3 separate regions of the Homo sapiens genome follow, and all the other regions are linked to region 2. The links are contacts of gene promoters, found by promoter capture Hi-C in human tissues and cell types (Jung and others, 2019). All regions are on one chromosome and are shown on one strand. The core of a region is centred on a gene start or on the middle of the fragment in contact, and the rest is flanking DNA. Distances in the headings are between cores, read along the strand shown.

Evidence for each region. The method cuts DNA at HindIII sites, captures the fragments that hold promoters and counts their contacts. A contact is called where the count stands out against the background at its distance.
Region 1: a contact is called between a fragment that was not itself captured here and the fragment with the promoter of PTPN5 in region 2, in 1 of the 25 tissues and cell types used here (pancreas).
Region 3: a fragment that was not itself captured here is called in contact with the fragment with the promoter of PTPN5 in region 2 in 1 of the 25 tissues and cell types used here (bladder).

Annotation. Positions count from the first base shown.
Region 1 is chr11:18,852,351-18,855,548 of GRCh38, reverse strand. No RefSeq gene overlaps it. Among named protein-coding and RNA genes, the nearest start is that of PTPN5, 62 kb to the right of the region's middle. RefSeq lists enhancers at 1,917-1,966, 2,187-2,316. The HindIII fragment of the contact is 3,963 bases long and covers 1-3,198 here.
Region 2 is chr11:18,790,353-18,793,200 of GRCh38, reverse strand. It overlaps PTPN5 (protein tyrosine phosphatase non-receptor type 5), which reads left to right and starts at 1,403. Exons shown (of 15, transcript NM_006906.2): 1 at 1,403-1,676. The HindIII fragment of the contact is 10,569 bases long and covers 1-2,698 here.
Region 3 is chr11:18,829,274-18,832,412 of GRCh38, reverse strand. No RefSeq gene overlaps it. Among named protein-coding and RNA genes, the nearest start is that of PTPN5, 39 kb to the right of the region's middle. The HindIII fragment of the contact is 5,292 bases long and covers 1-3,139 here.

The DNA.
Region 1 (3,198 bases), core at 441-2,940, 62 kb before region 2:
TTAGTTTTCTGACTCAGTGATCTGTCTAATGATGACAGTGGAGTGTTGAAGTTCCCCACTGTTATTGTGTGGCTGTCTAAATCTTTTTGTAGATCCAGAAGTACTTGTTTTATGAATCTGGATATTCCAATGTTGGGTACACACATATTTAGGATAGTTAAGTCCTCTTATTGAATTGAACCCTTCGTTATTTTGTAATGCCCTTCTTTGTCCTTTCTTACTGTTGGTGATTTAAAGTCTGTTTTATCTGATACTAGAGTAGTTACCACTGTTGTTTTTTGTTTTTCATCTACATGGTAGACCTTTCTCAAACCCTTTACTTTGAGGATATGGGTGTCATTATGTGTGAGATGGCTCACTTGAAGACAGCAAATGAATGGGTCTTTTTTAATCTAACTTGCCACTCTGTTTCTTTAAAGTGGGACACTTAGACCATTGTTAATTTAAGACCTTTCTAACTTTTGAGGTAGTTGTTCAGCACTATAAATTTTCCTCTTAATGCTGCTTTTGCTGCATCCCAGAGATTTTGGTATGTTGTGTCTTTGTGTTCATTTATTTCAAATAATTTTTTGATATCTGCCTTAATTTCATTGTTTACCCAAAGGTCATTCAGGAGCAAGTTGTGGGCATTTCGATCATTTGCATACAAGTGTACTGGGGGCATTTAGACCATTTACATATAAGGTTAGTATTGATGTGTGATATTTTGATCTTGTCATTAAGTTGTTAGCTGGTTGCTTTGTAGTTTCTATTGCGTGGTTGCTTTACACAGTCTGTGGGCTATGTGCTTAAGCGCGTTTTTGGTGGTAACATGTATCATTTTTTTGTTTCCATATTTAGAACTCCCTTAAGGATCTCTTGTAAGGCTAGTCTAATGGCAAAAAAATTCCCCTAGCACTTGCCTATATGGAAATTATTTTCTTTCTCCCTTGCTTATGAAGCTTAGCTTGGTGGGATATGAAATTCTTGGTTGAAATTTCTTTTCTTTAAGAATGTTGAAAAAAGACCCCCAATCTCTCCTAGCTTATAATATTTCTGCTGAGAAGGCCACAGTTATCCTGATTGGGTTCCCTTTGCATGTGACCTGACCTTTTCTTTTTGCTGCCTTTAAGATTTTTTTCTTTGGCATTGATATTTGGACAATCTGGTGACTATATGCCTTGATGATGTTTGTTTTATATAGTATCTTGCAAGTGTTCTCTGGATTTCTTATATCTGGCTGTCTACCTCTCTAGCCAGATTAGGGAAATTTTCTTAAATTATTTTCTCAAATATTTTTCCAGGTTCTTTACTTTTTCTCCTTCTCTGTCAGGAAGGCCTATAATTTATAGGTTTGGTCACTTTCCATAATCTCACATTTCTTGAAGACTTTGTTCACTTTATAAAATTCTTTTTTCTTTATTTTTGTCTAACAGGTTAGTTGAAAAGAGCAGTCTTCAAGCTCTGAAATCCTTTTATCTGCTTAGTCTAGTCTATAGATAAAGCTTTCAATTATATTTTGAAAATCCTTAAGTGAGATTTTCAATTCCAGAAGTTCTGATTGATTTATTCTTAGGATGTTTATCTCTTCCTTCATTTTCTGGATTGCTTTAGAAGTATCTTTGTGTTGATTTTCAACCTTGTCTTGGATCTCACTGAGCTTCCCTGTGATCAATGCTTTGAATTCTTTATCTGTCATTTCTGAGTTTCCATTTTGGTTAGAGACCATTGCTAGAGATCTAGTGTGATCCTTTGGTAGTGTCACAGCATTCAGATTTTTCATGGTGCCAGAATTCTTATGCAGCCTCCTTCTTATCTGGGGTTGCTGGCATTTCTAATTTTGGTAATTATTTTGATTTTTTTCCGTCTTCATATGTAATATTATTGGGGTTTTTTTTTTTCTTTCCCTTTCCCTTTCCCTTTCCTCTCTCACTAGGGGATGGGACTGCAGAGAATGCTGAGTAGGATTTTTGGCTTTGCTTCTATAGCACTATGCACATCTGTTGGCAGGTTTTATATTAGGTTGTGCAGTTCAACCTACAAGCCAGTAGATGGCACTTACAGGTAAGAGATGGCTGTGGCCAACAATGCTAGGTATGTACTTGATTCTTTCTTACTGAGAGAAATTCCCTATCGCCTCACGCTGTGGGCTGCTTCCTAAAGTGCACAGTGGTTTGAGCTCCCTGTTCAGCCCCAGGAAGGCAGAGACTAAGATGGGTGGGAGCCGAGATGGATGGAGACCAAGATGGGCAGAGCCCAATCATGCAGTTCCACCTACGGGTCACCCAGTAGGAGACACACACACCAGCATCCAGTGGGCAGCCACCAAGTGCCCTGAGGTGTGCCTAGGTGTGGAGCTGGGAAACCTCCTTGGCCCCAAGTTCTCTGCATAGGGATGGGGGTGGCCTAAACTGCTAATCCAGAAGAGTAGGTGTCCCAGATGCCTGGAGGTCTACCTGGGCATAAAGTAGAGAGGGCCTCACTGTATCATAATCTATGTCCAGGAAGGGTGGGATAGCTCAGCCTGCTGAAACAGAAGAGCAAGTGCTCCAGATGCCTGGAGGTATACCTGGATGTGATGCAGTGAGGGCCTCCACGAACCAGGATCTCTGCACAGGAAGGGTGGGGCTGCTCAGGTTGCTAATCCAGATGAGCGGGTGCTCTGAATCCCTGGAGATCTACCTGGGCATGGAGCAAAGAGGGCCTTGCTGTACCTTGATCTATGCCCATGAAGGGTAGGGTAGCTCAGGCTGCTGGTCCAGGAAAATGGGTATTCTAAATACCTGGATTTCTGCCTGGATATTGGGCAGAGTGGGCCCTGCTACACCACAGTCTCAGGGGAGCAGGCTGGAGTACCCAGAAATGACACATGCAGACTGGTTCCAGATCACCAAGCTGGCGCTGGCCCTAGTCTCACCACCTAGGAGAAACTGCAGCTGTATCAGCTCTCTTGCCACCCCAGGCTTGTGATGGGGGAAAGCACAATTCTAGCACCTACTGCTGAGGCATTTTCCACAGTTCTGGCCATAGAGGCTCCTAACCTGCTCCAGAGTAAGGACTCCAATCTCTGGCCTGAGACTAAAATGCCTGTGTGGCCCCACTGCCAGATCGCTGAAGAATGGCCTTCAACATAGTACCTGGGTATTGTTGATGGTTATTCAGGGCCCAAGGGCTCTTCAGTTAGCAGGTGATGAATGGTGCCAGGACTAGGTTTTTCCC
Region 2 (2,848 bases), core at 154-2,653:
AGAGCAAGACTCCGTCTCGGGGGCGGGGGGGTGGGGGGAGTGACACTTTGAAGAGGTAAAGGAGTAGCCGTGTGACTATCAGAGGGAAGAGTTTCCAGGCAGACAGACCAGCAGTGCAAAGGTCCTGAGGCCACAGGGCTGCCACGCCGATGATGCATTAAAAAGGCCAATGTGACTGGAGCGTGGGAGAAGGGGGAGGGTGGTAGAAAGAGAGGTTAAAGAGCTAAAAAGGAGCCAGTTCCTGAAGGGCTTTGCAGGTCATGAGGGGCCTTTAACTTTCCCTTGGATGAAATGGAGTGCTAGTGTAGGATTTCCAGTAAAGGAACGACGTGCTCTGACTTAAATTTTAAAGGATCGCCTTGACTGCTGTGTAGAGAATCAGCTGCAGGGGGCCAAGGGTGGAAGCTGGGAGACCAGTAAAGAGACTATAATGGAAATCCCGGGGGGCGGGGGTGGATGGTGGCTGGAACCAGGGTGGTAGCTACGTGGTGGCTCGCCTCTGATTCCCCGTGTAAAAAATGGAGTTTAGGATCCCTGCCCTGTGTGCAGCCCACAGCCTCAAGCCCCCATGGGGATGGAATGCCGGAAACCTCTGGCCAGCGCACTAGCAGCCTGGAGAATACGGAAGATTGTGGCAGGATTGTGGGGCACATGGGCAGCTCCCTGCTCGTCCGGGCCCCTGGTGCCCACGAGAAAACCAAAACAGGTGCGTGCCCCGCGCCGCACGTCAGGAGGGCAAGACTCAGTGGAGGGAGGGGCTGTCCACTCGCTCTAGCTCCCCAGAGGCTGAACAGGGAGAACTGGGAAAAAGGACGCCTCCTCAGCGTCCTAGAACGAGTCCTCGGCACCTGGTATTGCATGCGCCCTAGTATGGGGCCGCTCCACTTGCGCAGGTGTTGGCAACATGCGGGGAGCGCCACGGCATGCCCCCAATGAGCCGACTCCCTCCCCCAACTCTGCCCCCTTTGTCTCGCTGGCCCCTACTCCTTCTGTCTGCCTGTCTGTCCCGTCCCAGGTTCAGCGCGCACGGCCCTGCCGGGGTCCCTCTGGCAGTTGCCGTAGCCGCGCGGCCCGACCCGGGGCTCCCAAGAGGAGAAAAAATCATGAATGAAATGGATGCGCTGCTCCCACTCCTCCGCCCTCCTTGTCCAAGCAACCTTGGCATGGGGGCGACGACTGCGGAGACTCCGCGCAGAGTTGCTCGGGAGAGGGAGGCACCTGAGATGAGGTCAGGGGTTAAGGGTCTGTGATCCGGCCCCCTTCGTGCCCCGGGAGCAGGCCGCTCTCCCGGTCCCCCGCCCCGCCAGCCCTGCGCAATTCCCGGCGAGCGGCGGAAGCCCGCCCGGGGGCGGGGCGGAGCCGGGGCTGGGGGGTGCCAAACCCACCCGGCGGCTGCGCCAGCGACTCTGCAGCTGAAGCGCATTTGGTGAGGCGGTCGGGCGAGGGAGCGCGCACGGAGCGCGGGACGGAGCGCCAGGCGGACGGACCGAAGGACGGAGGCACCGAAGGACGGACGCCCCCGCACACGCAGACGCACAGAGCTCGGCGCGGCCCCCGTCGCATACACACTGGCACAGACACAAGCAGGGACACACGCAGACACACGCACACTCGCGCGCGCATCCTCCCGCCAGCCTGCCCGCCTGCTCGCCGGCGCCCGGAGCCCGCTCTGGCCGGTAAGTGCGGCGCCTCCGTCTGCGCCTTTGTGTGCGGAGCCGGAAGGTGGAGGGCGCGGGTCCCTCCTTCGGGCGGCCCCGCAACTGACACCTTCTCCAGCCCTCCCGGCCGAGGAGCCGGCGCCCGCCCCCGCCACGCCCCCGTGGGGCTCTGGGCGCCCGCATGCTGGGGGAGGGGTCCCCCATGCAGAGGAGGGGGCTTGTCGCTTGGTAGCCGGGAGGGAGCGGCAGCCACTCCCCACGAAGCCCGTGCGCGGTTCCGGGGAGGAATCGGGATAGTGGTTTGGGGTCTGAGCCTCTGCGGCCGGCGGAGGCTGGTGCGCGGCTCTGGGCTGCATCGCCTCTCCGGAGCCTGAAGCCCCTGAGGGAGATTGGAAATCGCCGCTAGCCTTCTGGCCTCTAAAGCGCGGCTCCCAGCCTTCCCATTGCTTCGCCTCCACCGACCCTTTAGCTTTAGCCTCCCGCGTCCCACCCTCCCCTAGAATACAAGCTTAGCGCGCTCCCCTCCCCCAGCATGCTGCTTGTTTCTGGTTGAGGCCCAGGCTCCTGCAAAACCGGAGATTGCCCGGGTCAGAGCCTTGGGAGGCTTACCTTATCAAGGATCACAGGGCTTAGAAGATCAGGGCCAGACGAATCCTGGGAACTTATTCAACCTTCTCATTTTACAGATGGGGAAACTGAGGCCCAGTAAGGTGGCGGACCAAGGTCACCAGAGAGTTAGTGGTAAAGCTTTCATTAGAATCTAGGGTTCCTGGTTTTCATACTCATGCTCCCCTCCTACACAACTAGATCCCACCCACATTGAAGCCCCAGAACCCCAAAATTCACCTGAGTGTACCACGAAAGTGTGTAATTCCAGCCCTGCCCCACTTGGAGGGGCAGGTGCCATTCATTTTCTACCTTCCCTACCTATGGTACCAAAAAAAGGGGAGAGGGGGCTTTAATTTGCTTCCTTCAACCTCAAAGGAGAGCTCTCATAACACTCAAACACTCCGGGTTTGGGATTCGTTTGGGAGAATGAAGAAGCCCAGGACCTGAGATCAGATTCCCAGGCGTTAGTCCTGATCCACCCAGGACACACTGAGCCTGAGTGTCCTCAGTTGGACCAGGTGATGTGGCATCCCAGGATTCGTCCTCTTCTCCACTGTGTCCTGACTGCATGCCCTCCCAGT
Region 3 (3,139 bases), core at 388-2,887, 39 kb before region 2:
TGGAGAAAGATCTATCACAAAAATGGAAAACAAAAAACAGGAGTCACTATTCTTATATCAATAAAACAGACTTTAATCCAACAACAGTAAAAAAGTGGGGGAATGGATACACAATGATAAAGGGTTCAATTCAACAAGAACACTTAACTATCCTAAATATATACATACCCAAAACTTGAGCACCCAGATTTACAAAATAAGTACTTCTAGACCTGCAAACAGATTTGGACAGCCATACAATAATACTGAGAAACTTCAACATCTCCCTGACAGCATTAGGCAGGTACTGAGGCAGAAAACTAACAAAGATATCTGGGACCTGAACTCAACACTTAACCAAATTAACCTAATAGACACCTGCAGAATACACCACCCATCAAACACAAAATATACATTTTTCTGTTTTGCACAATGAACATACTTCATGATCAATCACATGTAATACTTTTTTTATTATTTCAATAGATTTAGGGGGAACAGGTGGTGTTTGGTTACATGAATAAGTTTTTAATGGTGATTTATGAGATTTTGGTGCACCCATCACCTGAGCAGTGTACCCAATACCCAATGTGTAGTCTTTTGTCCCTCACCCGCTCCCACTTTCCCCGAAGTCCCTAAAGTCCGTTGCATCATTCTTATGCCTTTTGATCCTCATAGCTTAGCTCCCACTTATGAGTGAAAACATACAACGTTTCGTTTTCCATTCCTGAGTGTGTGTGTGTGTGTGTGTGTGTGTATTCCATACGTGTATATATATACTTATGTGTGTGTGTTTGTGTGTGTGTGTGTGTGTATATATATATATATATATTTATTTATAAAACATTTTCTTTATCCACTCATTGATTAATTGGCATTTGGGCTGGTTCTATACTTTTGCAATCACAAATTGTGCTGCTATAAACATGCATGCGCAAGTACCTTTTTCATATAATGACTTTAGTTCTTTAAGGAATCTCTACACTGTTTTCCATAGTGGTTGTACTAGTGTGCATTCCCACCATCAGTGTAAAAGTGTTCCTTTTTCACCGCATCCCTGTCAACATTTTTTTTTTAATTTTTTGATTATGGCCATTTTTGCAGGAGTAAGGTGTATCGCATTGAGGTTCTGATTTATGTGCAAAAAAATTTTTTAAATCATACTCTCAGACCACAGTGGAATAAAAACAGAAATCAACACCAAGAAGCTCTCTCAAAATCACAGAATTACATGAAATTAAACAACTTGCTCCTGAATGACTTTTTGGTAAACAGGAAAACTAAGGCAGAAACCAAAAAATTCTTCGAAATAAATGAAAACATCACACCACATATCAAAATCTCTAGGATGCAGCAAGAGCAGTGGTAAGAAGAAAGTTGACTGCACTTAGCACCTACCTCAAAAAGTTAGAAAGATCTCAAATTAATGCTCTAACATCACACCTAGAGGAACTGGAAAAACAAGAACAAATTAACACCAAAGCTAGTAGAAGAAATCAAATAACTAAAATCAGAGCAGAACATTTTGAGACCCAAAAATGTATACAAAAAAATTAATAAAAGCAAAACTTGGTTCTTTCAAAGGATAAACAAGATCAATAGACTGCTAGCTAGATTAATAAAGAAAAAAAGAGAGAACATCCAAATAAGCATAATCAATAACAAGAAAGATGACATTATGACCAATTCCACAGAAATACGAAAGATCCTCAGACACTATTATGAACACCTTCATGCAAACAAACTAGGAAATCTAGAGGAAAGGAATAAATTCCTGGAAACACAACCTCCCAAGATTGAATCAGGAAGAAACTGAATCCCTGAACACACCAATAATGAGCTTTAAATGAGCTAGTCCCAATCCTTCTGAATCTATTCCAATAAATTGAGCAAGAGGGACTCCTCCCAAACTCAACCTATGAGGCTAACATCATTCTGATACCAAAACCTGGCAGGGACACAACAAAAAAAGAAAAATTTTAGGCCACTATCCTTCATGAATATAGATGCAAAAGTCCTTAACAAAATACTAGCAAACCAAAGAGCTAATCCACCATAATCAAGTAGGCTTTATTCCTGGGATGCAAGGTGGGTTCAACATACACAAATTAATAAATATGATTCAGCACATAAGCAGAACTAAAAAAAAAAACACATGATTATCTCAATAGATGCAGAAAAGATTCTCACTGAAATTCAACATCTCTTCATGTTAAAATCCTCAACAACATACCAGGAAAGCCAAAAGAATCCACACAGACCCTTTGAAGGAAGAAAATTGTTCCTGCAGACCCCAGGAGACAGCCCAAAAACCATGCTGCTATCCATGGCTGAGAGACCTGAAGACAGTTCACATCACAGGACTCTGTGCAGACACCCCCTGATACCAGCCCAGAGCTGAGTATCTCCTCTGGGTGGATAGATCCAGAAAAGGAATAACAATCACTACAGTTCAGCTCTCAGGAAACCACATCCCTAGGAAAAGGGGGAGAGCACTACATCAAAGGAGCACTCCATGGGACAAAAGAATCTGAACACCAGCAATATCAGCCCTTGAGCCCCAGAGCTTCCCTTCATGGTAGTCTACCTAAATGAGAAGGAACAGAAAAATGATTCTGGTAATATGACAAAACAAGGTTCTTTAATACCCCCAAAAGATCACACTAGCTCAGTAGCAATGGATCCAAACCGAGAAGAAATCCCTGAATTGCCAGAAAAAGTATTCAGAAGGTTGATTATTAAGCTAATCAAGGGGGCACCAGAGGAAGGTTAAGTCCAACTTAATGAAATAAAAAAAATACAAGATATGAAGGGAAAAATCTTCAGTGAAATAGATAACATAAATAAAAAATAATCACAACTTCTGGAAATAAAGGACACACTTAGAGAAATGCAAAATGCACTGGAAAGTCTTGGCAATAGAATTGTACAAGCAGAAGAAAGACCTTCAGAGCTCAAAGACAAGATTTTTTAAATTAACCCAATCCAACAAAGACAAAGGAAAAAGAATTAAAAAAATGAATGAAGCCTCCAAGAAGGTTGGGATTATGTTAAACAACCAAACCTAAGAATAATTGGTGTTACTGAGGAAGAAGAGAAATCTAAAAGTTTGGAAAACATATTTGAGGGAATAATGGAGGAAAACTTCCCTTGCCTTGCT